Regions from separate parts of the Homo sapiens genome. Here all the other regions are linked to region 4. Evidence: promoter capture Hi-C in human tissues and cell types (Jung and others, 2019). All regions are on one chromosome and are shown on one strand. The core of a region is centred on a gene start or on the middle of the fragment in contact, and the rest is flanking DNA. Distances in the headings are between cores, read along the strand shown.

Region 1 (2,700 bases), core at 96-2,595, 170 kb before region 4:
CCCTGGAGTAAGGATGCAGGGACTGTGTATGACCCACACACTCGTTTCCACCTGAGCAAAGGACCCTGGAGTGAGGATGCAGGGACTCTGTGTGACCCACACACTCGTTTCTACCGGATGCAAAGGACCCTGGAGTGACGATGCAGGGACTCTGTGTCACCCACACACTCGTTTCTACCGGATGCAAAGGACCCTGGAGTGAAGATGCAGGGGCTCTGTGTCACCCACACACTCGTTTCTACTGGATGCAAAGGACCCTGGAGTGAGGATGCAGGGACTCTGTGTCACCCACACACTCGTTTCTACCTGAGCAAAGGACCCTGGAGTGAGGATGCAGGGACTCTGCATGACCCACACGCTCGTTTCCACATGACACAAAGGACCCTGGAGTGAGGATGCAGGGACTCTGTGTGACCCGCACACTCGTTTCTACCGGATGCAAAGGACCCTGGAGTGACGATGCAGGGACTCTGTGTCACCCACACACTCGTTTCTACTGGATGCAAAGGACCCTGGAGTGAAGATGCAGGGACTCTGTGTGACCAACACGCCCGTTTCCACCTGACGCAAAGGACCCTGGAGCGAGGATGCAGGGACTGCTCTGAGTTACCAGCACACTTGTCGCTTTTACACATAAAGAACCCTGTGACTCTGTCCCAGGACCTTTTAGCCTAGACCTAAAAATTCGCAGCCCAGGAAACCCAAAGCATTTTAGGAACCTGAGGGGTGGGCCAAGGGGATCTCAGAGTTTGATGCTGGCTGTGGGGTCAGCAAAGGGTGGCTGGGGCTTCCCATAAGCACTCCCAGGAGGCCGTGCAATGGCCCGAGGCTGGTTCCACCTCCCGCCCTCAGTTCTCACGCCCAGCCGTGACTGGAGCACCCCTTCAGGAAGGAGTCCCTGGCTCCAGGCCCTAACGTCCATGTCAAGGCCCCTAGTGGGGCAGCTTCTACCCCAGGGAGGCTGGAACTGGAGGCAGCCTGGAGCTCCAGGCAATCCTGGCAACCACCTGCTTCTTGAAGTGGCTGCAGAAAAACCCCTGCTTCCAAACCCTGGTACAGACTGTGTGAGGCCTGGAACGCGGGAGGCACACTTCACAGGGTCCCTGCTCAGATGCAAAAAGCAAGGCTAACAGCAGGAAAATTATTTAATTACCTTCATGGTCATCAAGTAAAATCAGTCACTCAGACCTATATGTGACTGGAAGTATACACATTATAGAAGTGTATATACATGTAAATATATACATGCTTATTTTCCTCTACTTTTATATACCTTACATATATATGTGTATATGTGCAAATGTATAAAACATGGACGATAAACCATAGTTGAGATTTCAAATCTCAAAGATCTCAGAAGCAAATTACTATCCTTAAATTCTATACAAAGACATAACATCTTACATTCTTGCAAACAAAACATTCTCTAAGTATTAGCGTTTTATTTTAAAAACAAAGAATGCATTGCACTCTCGCAATTTCTTATTTCAAATCACTTTCACTGAGAGATTCTATAACTTGCTACCTTGAATACTTCCAACAATAATAGCTCATTAGTTTAAGCATTAGGGAGTTCATTTTTAAATACCATCACTGATTAAGAAAAACTGCTCTACAGGACTTTCGCTATTTTAAAGCGTAATGATGTCCACCTCTCTATACTCAAGAACAGGAAGATGCCCGTGCAGATGTTTCCAAAGCAATTCAGAGGAGATGGTCTAGACACACAGTTTAAGACAATCACAATTTCAAAAAAAAAAAAAAAAGAATCACATTTTCAAGGTCAGAAGATCAAGACCAAATCCAGGATATTCTGAAGGGTTCAACTTACATTTAAATTATCTCATGTATTTGTAGTTTGGATGGAACATGACATCCTTAAAGACAACCAAATCTAAAATACAGAAAAGCATTCTTAAATGCATCACAGCCCTTAAAACCCACAGCATATCTCTTTTGTTTAAATGTACTTAATTTTATCACATTTTCATTTTATAATTTCAAAATTTCTAAAGCTCCTAACGCCTCAAACCGAGATAGAATTTGACTTCAGCAATTTCCAAGTCACAAGCAGGTTGTATGTCCACAGCTATTCGGAATGTGGTTTCTGATAGAAGCTTTTATGAACACACATGAAATCCCTCTGGATTGCAAAGGCTGAGACTCAGCGTATCTCAGAATGAAAATACATACATTTGTGATGGACAGCAGAACACAGTACAGATACTAATTAGTAAAACAACAGCAAAGTCTACGGCACTTCTCATACAGAACAAATACAAAGTGTTTGAGGAAAAGTCTTTCTAACTGTAAAAATTCGAGCTGATTGGAACAAAGAAGATTCTGAATATGATCTTGGCTGCTTTACAAGACTTCAGAATTTTCCTCATCTGCAAGTGAAAATGAACCTCCTGCTTGCCCACTGAGGACAGGGAGAGAACAGGGTAGGATAACAGGCCTTTGAATGCTTCGTAGGTGGAGAAAGGAAGACAGGCCAGCCCCGTACACCCATCAGCACACCCACACCAGCTGTGCAGGTGACTCAGCTAACCCTGCGATGGCCAGGCATCTCAATGAGACAGCCGGGCCTGAGTGACCTGCCAAGAGACATGATGGCCAAGCCTGGATGGAATCCCTGGAGGGTAGTCAACCCAGGGCCTCTCAGGTTTTGTCCCAGCAGGTCTGTGCCCAGGAATCTGC
Region 2 (2,700 bases), core at 26-2,525, 250 kb before region 4:
AGCCAGTCATTTCATAGAAGATAAACTTTAAGAATATTCTCTGAAGAGCAATGAAACTGAGATAAGATCTAACCACTGTTACCAACAACCAAGAAAAATAGGTAAGAAAATGCAGCTAAGATTTTGTTCAAGTAAGCAGGGTAATAAACATGCAGACTACTGCTAAGCACAAAATAGCTGGGAGTAAAAAATTTTTATGATATTGATATTTATGATTGTACAAAACTACCCCATGTGATATCACAAGGACTCCTGATGAAAATTTACAGAAGGTTTTTTATGGTTTATATAAAAATGCTAGTCAAATCCAAATATTTCACAAAAATAACATTTCAAATATTCTTTTGCATTTTGCAAAGACATCTGTACAATGAGGTTATTCATCACACATGACCCAGTAACATCTCTCAGTGGTTGGATTCAATATGAGAAATAAGCAAGCAAATAACCACACTGCTTCTTCCATTTCAAACTCATCGTTTCTCTTATAAAAAGTGGTCAAGAAAAATGTGTGTTGCCTTAAATAACCGGTTAGTGCCAAGAATTCGGTTTAAAATATTTCAAGTGGGTTATCCTTTTAAGTCCATTTTGTTAGTTACACAAAGAACACATACAAATAACATTTTTTTACCATAAGTTTTGGCAAATTATAACCATAAACTAAACAAACAGGATTAAGCATTTTTTTTTTTTGAGATAGGGTCTTCCTCTGTTGCCCAGGCTGCAGTGCAGTGGCATGACCATGGCTCACTGCAGCCTCAGCCTCCTTGGGCCCAAGTGATCCTCCCACCTCAGCCTCCCGAGCAGCTGGGACTATGCGCACACACCACCATGCCTGGCTGATTTCTGTATTTTTGGTGGAGACAGGGTTTTGGAATGTTGCCCAGGCTGGTCTCAAACTCCAGGACTCAAGCAATCTGCCTGCCTTGGCTTCCCAAAGTGCTGAGGCTGGAGGCATGAGCCACCATGCCTGGCCTAATCATTTTTAAAGAGTCTCTATTTATTATCGTTATTTTTTTCTAATTGAGATGGGGTCTTGCTGTGTTTCCCAGGCTGGAGTGCAGTGGTGCCATCTCAGCTCACGGCAACCTCTGCCTCCCAGGCTCAAGTGATTTTTCCACCTCAGCCTCCCAAGTAGCTGGGACTACAGGTGTACACCACCAGGCCCAGCTAATTTTTTGTACTTTTGGTGGAGACAAAATGTACAAAAGGCATTTTGGTACATTTTGCCATGTTTTCCGGGCTGGTCTTGAACTCTTGGGCTCAAGCCATACGCCTGCCCTGGACTCCCAAAGTGCAGGAGTTACAGGCATGAGCTACCGTGCCTAGCCCCTAATTACGTGCTGTTGCTTAATATTAAAATAAAGAAAAGGAGGAGCCCAAGGGAGCACGTTGGCAGAAAGAGCTCCCTTGCCAACAACCTTGCTAGCACGGCGTTCACTCCCTTGCCCGCTAGCATTTGCTAGCACGGCGTTCACTCCCTTGCCAACAACCTTGCTAGCACGGCGTTCACTCCCTTGCCCACTGGCATTTGCTAGCACGGCGTTCACTCTCTTGCCCGCTGGCACTGTGTTCTTTAGACGAAGATCACGCATGTGTAAATGAAAAACAACAACAACATAGGAACACCCTGTCTCCACAAAAACTTAAAAATTAGCTGGGTGTGGTGGCATGCACCTGTGGTCCCAGGTGCTTGAGAGGCTGAAGTGGGAGGACCGCCTGAGCCCAGGTGGTCACGGCTGCAGTGAGCCAAGAGCTGCAATCATGACACTGAATTCTGACCGTGGCGATAGAGCAAGACCCTGTCTCAAAACAAACAAAAAACAACAAAAACCCCAAATTATGCACTCTTTAAGTTCTGTCCTATCAATCTCAGTACCTTCATTAGTAAAGGTATAAAGGTGAATACTCAGGAGCTACTTGGAATAATGTGGGCATATGCTTGATCTCAGCTCTGATCTGATGCATGTCCTTCTGTCTCACTGCTTGCCAAGACCAAGCTAAACTTCAAAAGTAAAAATACTCCCAAAAAATTGTACATTTTCAACTATTCATATTGTACCTTAAGTTTCTCTTGTAGTGGAGAAAAAAATGGTGTCAAAGTGGTGTGTAGCTTCAAAGTGGGATGTAAGGTGATTTAGGTCCTTTGAGAAGACAAGCTTGCAACTGTCACATGAATAATGTTGGAATCAAAATCACAGAAACTAAACACCAAACAACGTAGGTTCAATCCATGTTTCTAACAAGTATCTGGATAACTACACTTTCTGCTTTACTTGGGTGGGAAGATCATGAGATGTAGTTTATAATTATTTGGGCAGAGAAAATAGAGAATTTGGGTAGTTATGTAAAATTCAAGATTAAATAAAAGCAGTATTACATAACACAAATATAAATGGGCTATTACCTTCAGTAATTCAGATCGGGGTTGGCACATCTGTGCACCAAATCTGGTCCGCTGTTCTTATAAAGTTTTATTGGTACACAGCCATACCCACTTGCTATCACCTATGGCTGCTTTCACACTCCAAGGGCAGAGTTGAGTGGTTGTGACAGACCTTATGGCCTGCAGGAACTAAAATACTATCTGGCAACTTGCAGGCAAAGTTTATGACCCGTGATTTGGGTAACTGCCTAAATTGTCCAATTTGCTTGTTCTAAAACAATACAACAATATAGCACATTTATATGAAGATTTGA
Region 3 (2,867 bases), core at 215-2,714, 230 kb before region 4:
GCTCTAGGATCTTCCACAGCCACATCAGGGAACAGTGTCCTTCATCTGGGCTCTAGGGTCTTCCTCCCAGTCACATCAGGGAACGGCGTGCTGCACGTGGGCTCTAGGATCTTCCCACAATCACATCAGGGAACGGCGTGCTGCACGTGGGCTCTGGGATCTTCCTCCCAGTCACATCAGGGAACCACCTGCTGCACGTGAGCTCTAGGACCTTCCCACAGCCACATCAGGGAACTGCGTGCTGCACGTAGGCTCTAGGATCTTCCTCTCACAGTCACATCAGGGAACCACCTGCTGCACGTGAGCTCTAGGACCTTCCCAGTCACATCAGGGAACCAACCACCTGCTGCACGTGAGCTCTAGGACCTTCCCACAGTCACATCAGGGAACCACCTGCTGCACGTGAGCTCTAGTATCTTCCCACAGCCACATCAGGGAACCGCGTGCTGCACATGAGCTCTAGTATCTTCCTCCCACAGTCACATCAAGGGATCGCGTGCTGCACGTGGGCTCTAGGATCTTCCTCTCACAGTCACATCAGGGAACGGCATGCTGCACATGAGCTCTAGGATCTTCCTCTCCCAGTCTTGGGTGGAATGGGCACAACACAAGTCTCCAGGTTTTCTTTTCCAGAGTTGTTGGTTGGGGAAAAAAAGGTGATAACTAAAGCTAGAATCTAAGCTCTAACTGAGAGTTTATCAAGTAAAGGTAATGAAGTGCTTAAAATCGACTCCAATACATTCTAGGTGCTCAATAAATGCCAGCTCATTCACTTACTTCCCAAATCAAGCTCAAGTTCCAAAAGAAAGCTATTTATAAAGAGAAGATATGTACTATGATGAAGAGCTTTCATAAGAATTCATTACAAAGTAAGGTCATGGGTTTAGAAATGAAATGAGAAAATACATCCAGTAGAGGTTAAATGGCTGAGTAGATTAATTATTAACTAGGTCAATTATGTAAGCAATAACAAAATTATTTCTGGGCTGCTAAAATTCAGTCATTGATGGGGAGAATGGAACAAGTTGGAAAACACTCTTCAGGATATTATCCAGGAGAACTTCCCCAACCAACCAAGACAGGCCCACATTCAAATTGAGAAATACAGAGAATATCACGAAGATACTCCTTGAGAAAAGCAACCCCAAGACACATAATTGTCAGATTCACCAAGATTAAAATGAAGGAAAAAATGTTAAGGGCAGCCAGAGAGAAAGGTAGGGTTACCCACAAAGGGAAGCTCATCAGACTAACAGCGGATCTCTCTGCAGAAACCCGACATGCCAGAAGAGAGTGGGGGCCAATATTCAACATTCTTAAAGAATTTTCAACCCAGAATTTCCTATCCAGCCAAACTAAGCTTTGTAAGTGAAGGAGAAATATAATCATTTACAGACAAGCAGATGCTGAGAGATTCTGTCACCACCAGGTCTGCCTTACAAGAGCTCCTGAAGGAAGCACTAAATATGGAGACGAAAAACTGGTACCAGCCACTGCAAAAACATAACAAATTGTAAAGACCACTGACACTGTGAAGAAACTGCATCAACTAATGGGCAAAATAACCAGCTAGCATCATAATGACAGGATCGAATTCACACATAACAATATTAACCTTAAATGTAAATGGGCTAAATGCCCCCATTAAAAGACACAGACTGGCAAACTGGATAGAGTCAAGACCCGTTGGTGTGCTGTATTCAGGAGACCTATCTCATGTGCAAAGACACACATAGGCTCAAAATAAAGGATGGAGGAATATTTACAAAGCAAAAAAAGCATGAGTTGCAATCCTGGTCTCTGATAAAACATACTTTAAACCAACAAAGATCAAAAAAGACAAAGAAGGGCATTACACAATGGCAAAGGGATCAATACAACAAGAAGGGCCAACTATCCTAAATATATACATACCCAATACAGGAGCACCCAGATTCATAAAGCAAGTTCTTAGATACCTACCAAGAGACTTAGACTCCCACACAGTAACAGTGGGAGGCTTTAACACCCCAACGTCAGTATTAGACAGATTGAGACAGAAAATTAACAAGGATATTCAGGACTTGAACTCAGCTCTGGGCCAAGCGGACCTAATAGACATCTACAAAACTCTCCACCCCAAATCAATAGGATATACCTTCTTCTCAGCACCAAATTGCACCTATTCTAAAACTGACCACATAATTGGAAGTAAAACACTCAACAAATGCAAAAGGATGGAAATCATAACAAACAGTCTCTCAGACTACAGTGCAATCAAATTAGAACTCACAGTTAAGAAACTCACTCAAAACTGCACAAATACATGGAAACTGAACAACCTGCTCCTGAATGACTACTGGGTAAATAATGAAATTAAGGCAGAAATAAATAAGTTCTTTGAAACCAATGAGAACAAAAGACAATGTACCAGAATCTCTGGGACACAGATAAAGAGGTGTGTAGAGGGAAATTTATAGCACTAAATGCCCACAAGAAAAAGCAGGAAAGATCTAAAATCGATACCCTAACATCATAATTAAAAGAACTAGAGAAGAAAGAGCAAACAAATTCAAAAGCTAGCAGAAGACAAGAAATAACTAAGATCAGAGCAGAAATGAAGGAGACAGAGACACGAAAAACTCTTCAAAAAAATCAATGAATCCAGGAGCTGGTTTTTGGAAAAGATCAACAAAATAGATAGACCACTAGCCAGACAAAGAAGAAAAGAGAGAAGAATCAAATAGACACAATAAGAAATGATAAAGGGGATATCACCACTGATCCCACAGAAATACAAACTACCAGAGAATACTGTAAACATCTCTATGCAAATAAACTAGAAAATCTAGAAGAAATGGATAAATTCCAGGACACATACACCCTCT
Region 4 (2,700 bases), core at 16-2,515:
TTAAAAAGGAAAACATAAAGTCAACACCAGCTCCTCCCTGCCGGTGAAAATTGGCACGAATGAGTTTACTTTCTGGCTGCCGGCCCTCACAAAACCGTTACCCAAAAAAAGTTCACCATGCTAAACTGCTCCAAATATAAATGTGAGACGCGCCGGCCCACCCCCACCCCACCCCACGTTACAGGAATGGCCTGACCAGGATGAGCCCAGAGACGGCTAAATGCACATCAAACATTTCAGATTTGGGAACTTCAGTGGTTTTGGGGAAAAGACCTGGCAAAGCCCGATCTGAAACTTATGACAGTTGAGCACATGATCTCCGCCATGAAGAGCAAATAAGAGGCGTACACAACCCTCCATAAGACCGCGGTGGCTGATCTGCCACAAACCCTCCTACGAGAGGACCAGGACGGCAAGGCCGGAGCCCGGCCCGGGGGGAGGTTGACGATTCCGCCCAGCCCTCCCCGCGCAGCGCCCGCGAACAATGGGGGTGGGATCCCCCGGGCCGCGCCAGGACCGCTGCACGGCCTGAGCCACCAGAGATCGAACCCGGGGTCCAACGACAAGTTTCGCATTGAAATCTGGCCGGGCGTTCCAGGCCGAACCCGCCAGCGAGGAGGTGGCGCGCACCGCGCTGCTGCACCAAGGACGCCGCGGCTCCAGCGCAGAGCGCACGGGAAGGCCGATCCCGCCGGGCCCGCTGCATCCTGCGTCCCCGCGCGGCGCCCAGGCCCCACAGACACCCCCAGGGCGCGGGGGGATCGCGGCCCCACAAACATCCCAGGGCGCGGGGGATCGCGGCCCCACAAACACCCCCAGAGCGCGAGGGGATCCCAGGCCCCACAGACACCCCCAGGGCGCGGGGAATCGCGGCCCCACAAACGTCCCCAGAGCGCGGGGGATCGCGGCCTCACAAACGTCCCTAGGGCGCGGGGTCTGGGGGTCCGGGGGACGCGCACGCTCCGGGCTGGGGTCGCACCTCCCCCTCCGGGCCCGGCCCCCGCCCCGCCGCAGGCCCCGCGCCCCCAGCCCTCCGCGCGCGGCCCTCCCCGGTGACAGCGCGGCCCGGCCCGGGGCGGGGGCCCGGTTACCTTCCGACAGCTCCAGCTCCAGCTCGGCCAGGCGCGCCCGCACCTCCAGGGGCAGCGCCATGCCCTCCAGGCTGCGGTCCGCCATGCTCCGCGGGCGCCGCGCCCCGCACGGCCTCCTCTTTGTTCGCAGGCGGAGGTCTCGGCGGCTCCTCGCGCCCGGCGGAACCGCACCGAGGAGGAGGCGGCGGCGCGGGCGCGGGAGGCGGGCGGCGGGCGCGCAGGGACCTCCCTCCCCTCGGCGCCTCCTCAGCGCGGCCCCGCCACGGCCGCCTCGCGCGCCCCCGCGCCCCACGGTCCCCGGCCCGCCCCGCGCGCGCTCGGCCCCTCCCCGCAGGCGCTGCGGACCCGGACCCGGCCCTGCTGCTCTCGGCCCCGGCCCGGCGGGAGCGTCTCTGCGCGCGCGCGTCACGGGGCCGCGGGGGCAGGGCGCGCGCGCGCGGGGCGCGAGGACGCGCAGGAGCGGGAGCGCGCGGGGGGGCGCGCGGCCGCGTCGGCGAAGCGCGCGCTCCCGGGGGCGCGCTCGGGGGCGGGTTGGGGGCTCGGGGCCCGCGGGGCGGGGCGGGGCGGGGCGGTCTTGTCTGTCCTGGGCTCTGCGCGTCCAGCGGAGCCTGCGGGCCCGGCCCCAGAGCCTGGTCCACCCGGCTCCCTGCGAAAATCACGTCCTGGAGCCGCAGCTTGACGTCTGCGCGAAAACTCGCAGTGCCCCGGGTCTTGGAGGGCTGGTTTTTTGTTAATGAACATTTTAAGAGGCGGAGACGGAGCGCTAGGCTGGAAGTTTCGAATGCAACGACCAGCAGATGACCTTGAGCGACTCTGAGCCTTTGCCTGGAGGGTCAGTGTCCCCATCTGTGAAAAGGGGATGGGAAGACAAGGTTGGGTCACCTAATCTCCAAATGCCAGGTGGGCCCGAAAAGCCTGGCTCCAGCCCTCCCGGAACAGGCTGCAGGCCCCAGGGTTCCCACCGTCCTTCTCCTTGTGGGGCCATCAGCTCCCAGCCTCAGTGCCACCTCGGCGAGGCTGAAGCCCCGTCTGTGCCTCTAGTCCTGACCATCTGGGGAGGCCCTCGCATCTCCAACCGTCCACTGAGCAAACTTCCCTGGAAGCCCCTAGACACCCCAAACGCCACAAACCCTAAATGAAGCCAGCTGCTTCCAGTGACTCTTAGTCACTGGAAGTTCTGCTTCTCAGAACCGCCCCCGTTGTCTTCATCATCACCTTCCTCTGTCTCCACACATCCTCCCCAGTCTGTTGCACAAAGCCCCGACGACCTGGCCTCCTTTTCATCCTTGTACCCCCTCTTCCCAGCCCGGCCCCTCCCTTAGGCCCAGAGCTTCCTAAAGACCTCCTCGCCTCCCCGTCCTCCACGGGACATTGGCCAGCGCTGGCTCCCGGAGGCCCAGCTGCACTCACTCCCCTTTCAGAGTGGGCCGCAGGAACACAGGTCCCCCACCTCACCCCCCTACCCCTACCCCCCACCACCCCCCCACCCCGCTTCGACCGGAGCCCCCACCAGCCGGGACCCACCTGCACGGCAGCCTTGCGGCCTCCACACTCCGGCTCCTGCAAACAACGCGGCTGACCCGCAGCACCTCTGCTCCCGGCCTCCACC

The links. Contacts are between HindIII fragments. The study calls those that stand out against the background at their distance.
Region 1: a fragment that was not itself captured here is called in contact with the fragment with the promoter of DIP2C in region 4 in 1 of the 25 tissues and cell types used here (IMR-90 fibroblasts).
Region 2: a fragment that was not itself captured here is called in contact with the fragment with the promoter of DIP2C in region 4 in 2 of the 25 tissues and cell types used here (H1 embryonic stem cells and dorsolateral prefrontal cortex).
Region 3: a fragment that was not itself captured here is called in contact with the fragment with the promoter of DIP2C in region 4 in 2 of the 25 tissues and cell types used here (dorsolateral prefrontal cortex and hippocampus).

Annotation. Positions count from the first base shown.
Region 1 is chr10:523,218-525,917 of GRCh38, forward strand. All of the region lies in intron 1 of DIP2C (disco interacting protein 2 homolog C), which reads right to left. Among named protein-coding and RNA genes, the nearest start is that of DIP2C-AS2, 100 kb to the right of the region's middle. RefSeq lists an enhancer at 421-921. The HindIII fragment of the contact is 5,565 bases long and covers 1-2,700 here.
Region 2 is chr10:437,815-440,514 of GRCh38, forward strand. All of the region lies in intron 4 of DIP2C (disco interacting protein 2 homolog C), which reads right to left. Among named protein-coding and RNA genes, the nearest start is that of DIP2C-AS2, 190 kb to the right of the region's middle. The HindIII fragment of the contact is 5,559 bases long and covers 1-2,700 here.
Region 3 is chr10:459,593-462,459 of GRCh38, forward strand. All of the region lies in intron 3 of DIP2C (disco interacting protein 2 homolog C), which reads right to left. Among named protein-coding and RNA genes, the nearest start is that of DIP2C-AS2, 170 kb to the right of the region's middle. The HindIII fragment of the contact is 4,017 bases long and covers 1-2,867 here.
Region 4 is chr10:688,403-691,102 of GRCh38, forward strand. It overlaps DIP2C (disco interacting protein 2 homolog C), which reads right to left and starts at 1,266. Exons shown (of 37, transcript NM_014974.3): 1 at 1,092-1,266. The coding sequence starts at 1,176. RefSeq lists an enhancer at 1,641-2,576. The HindIII fragment of the contact is 17,538 bases long and covers 1-2,700 here.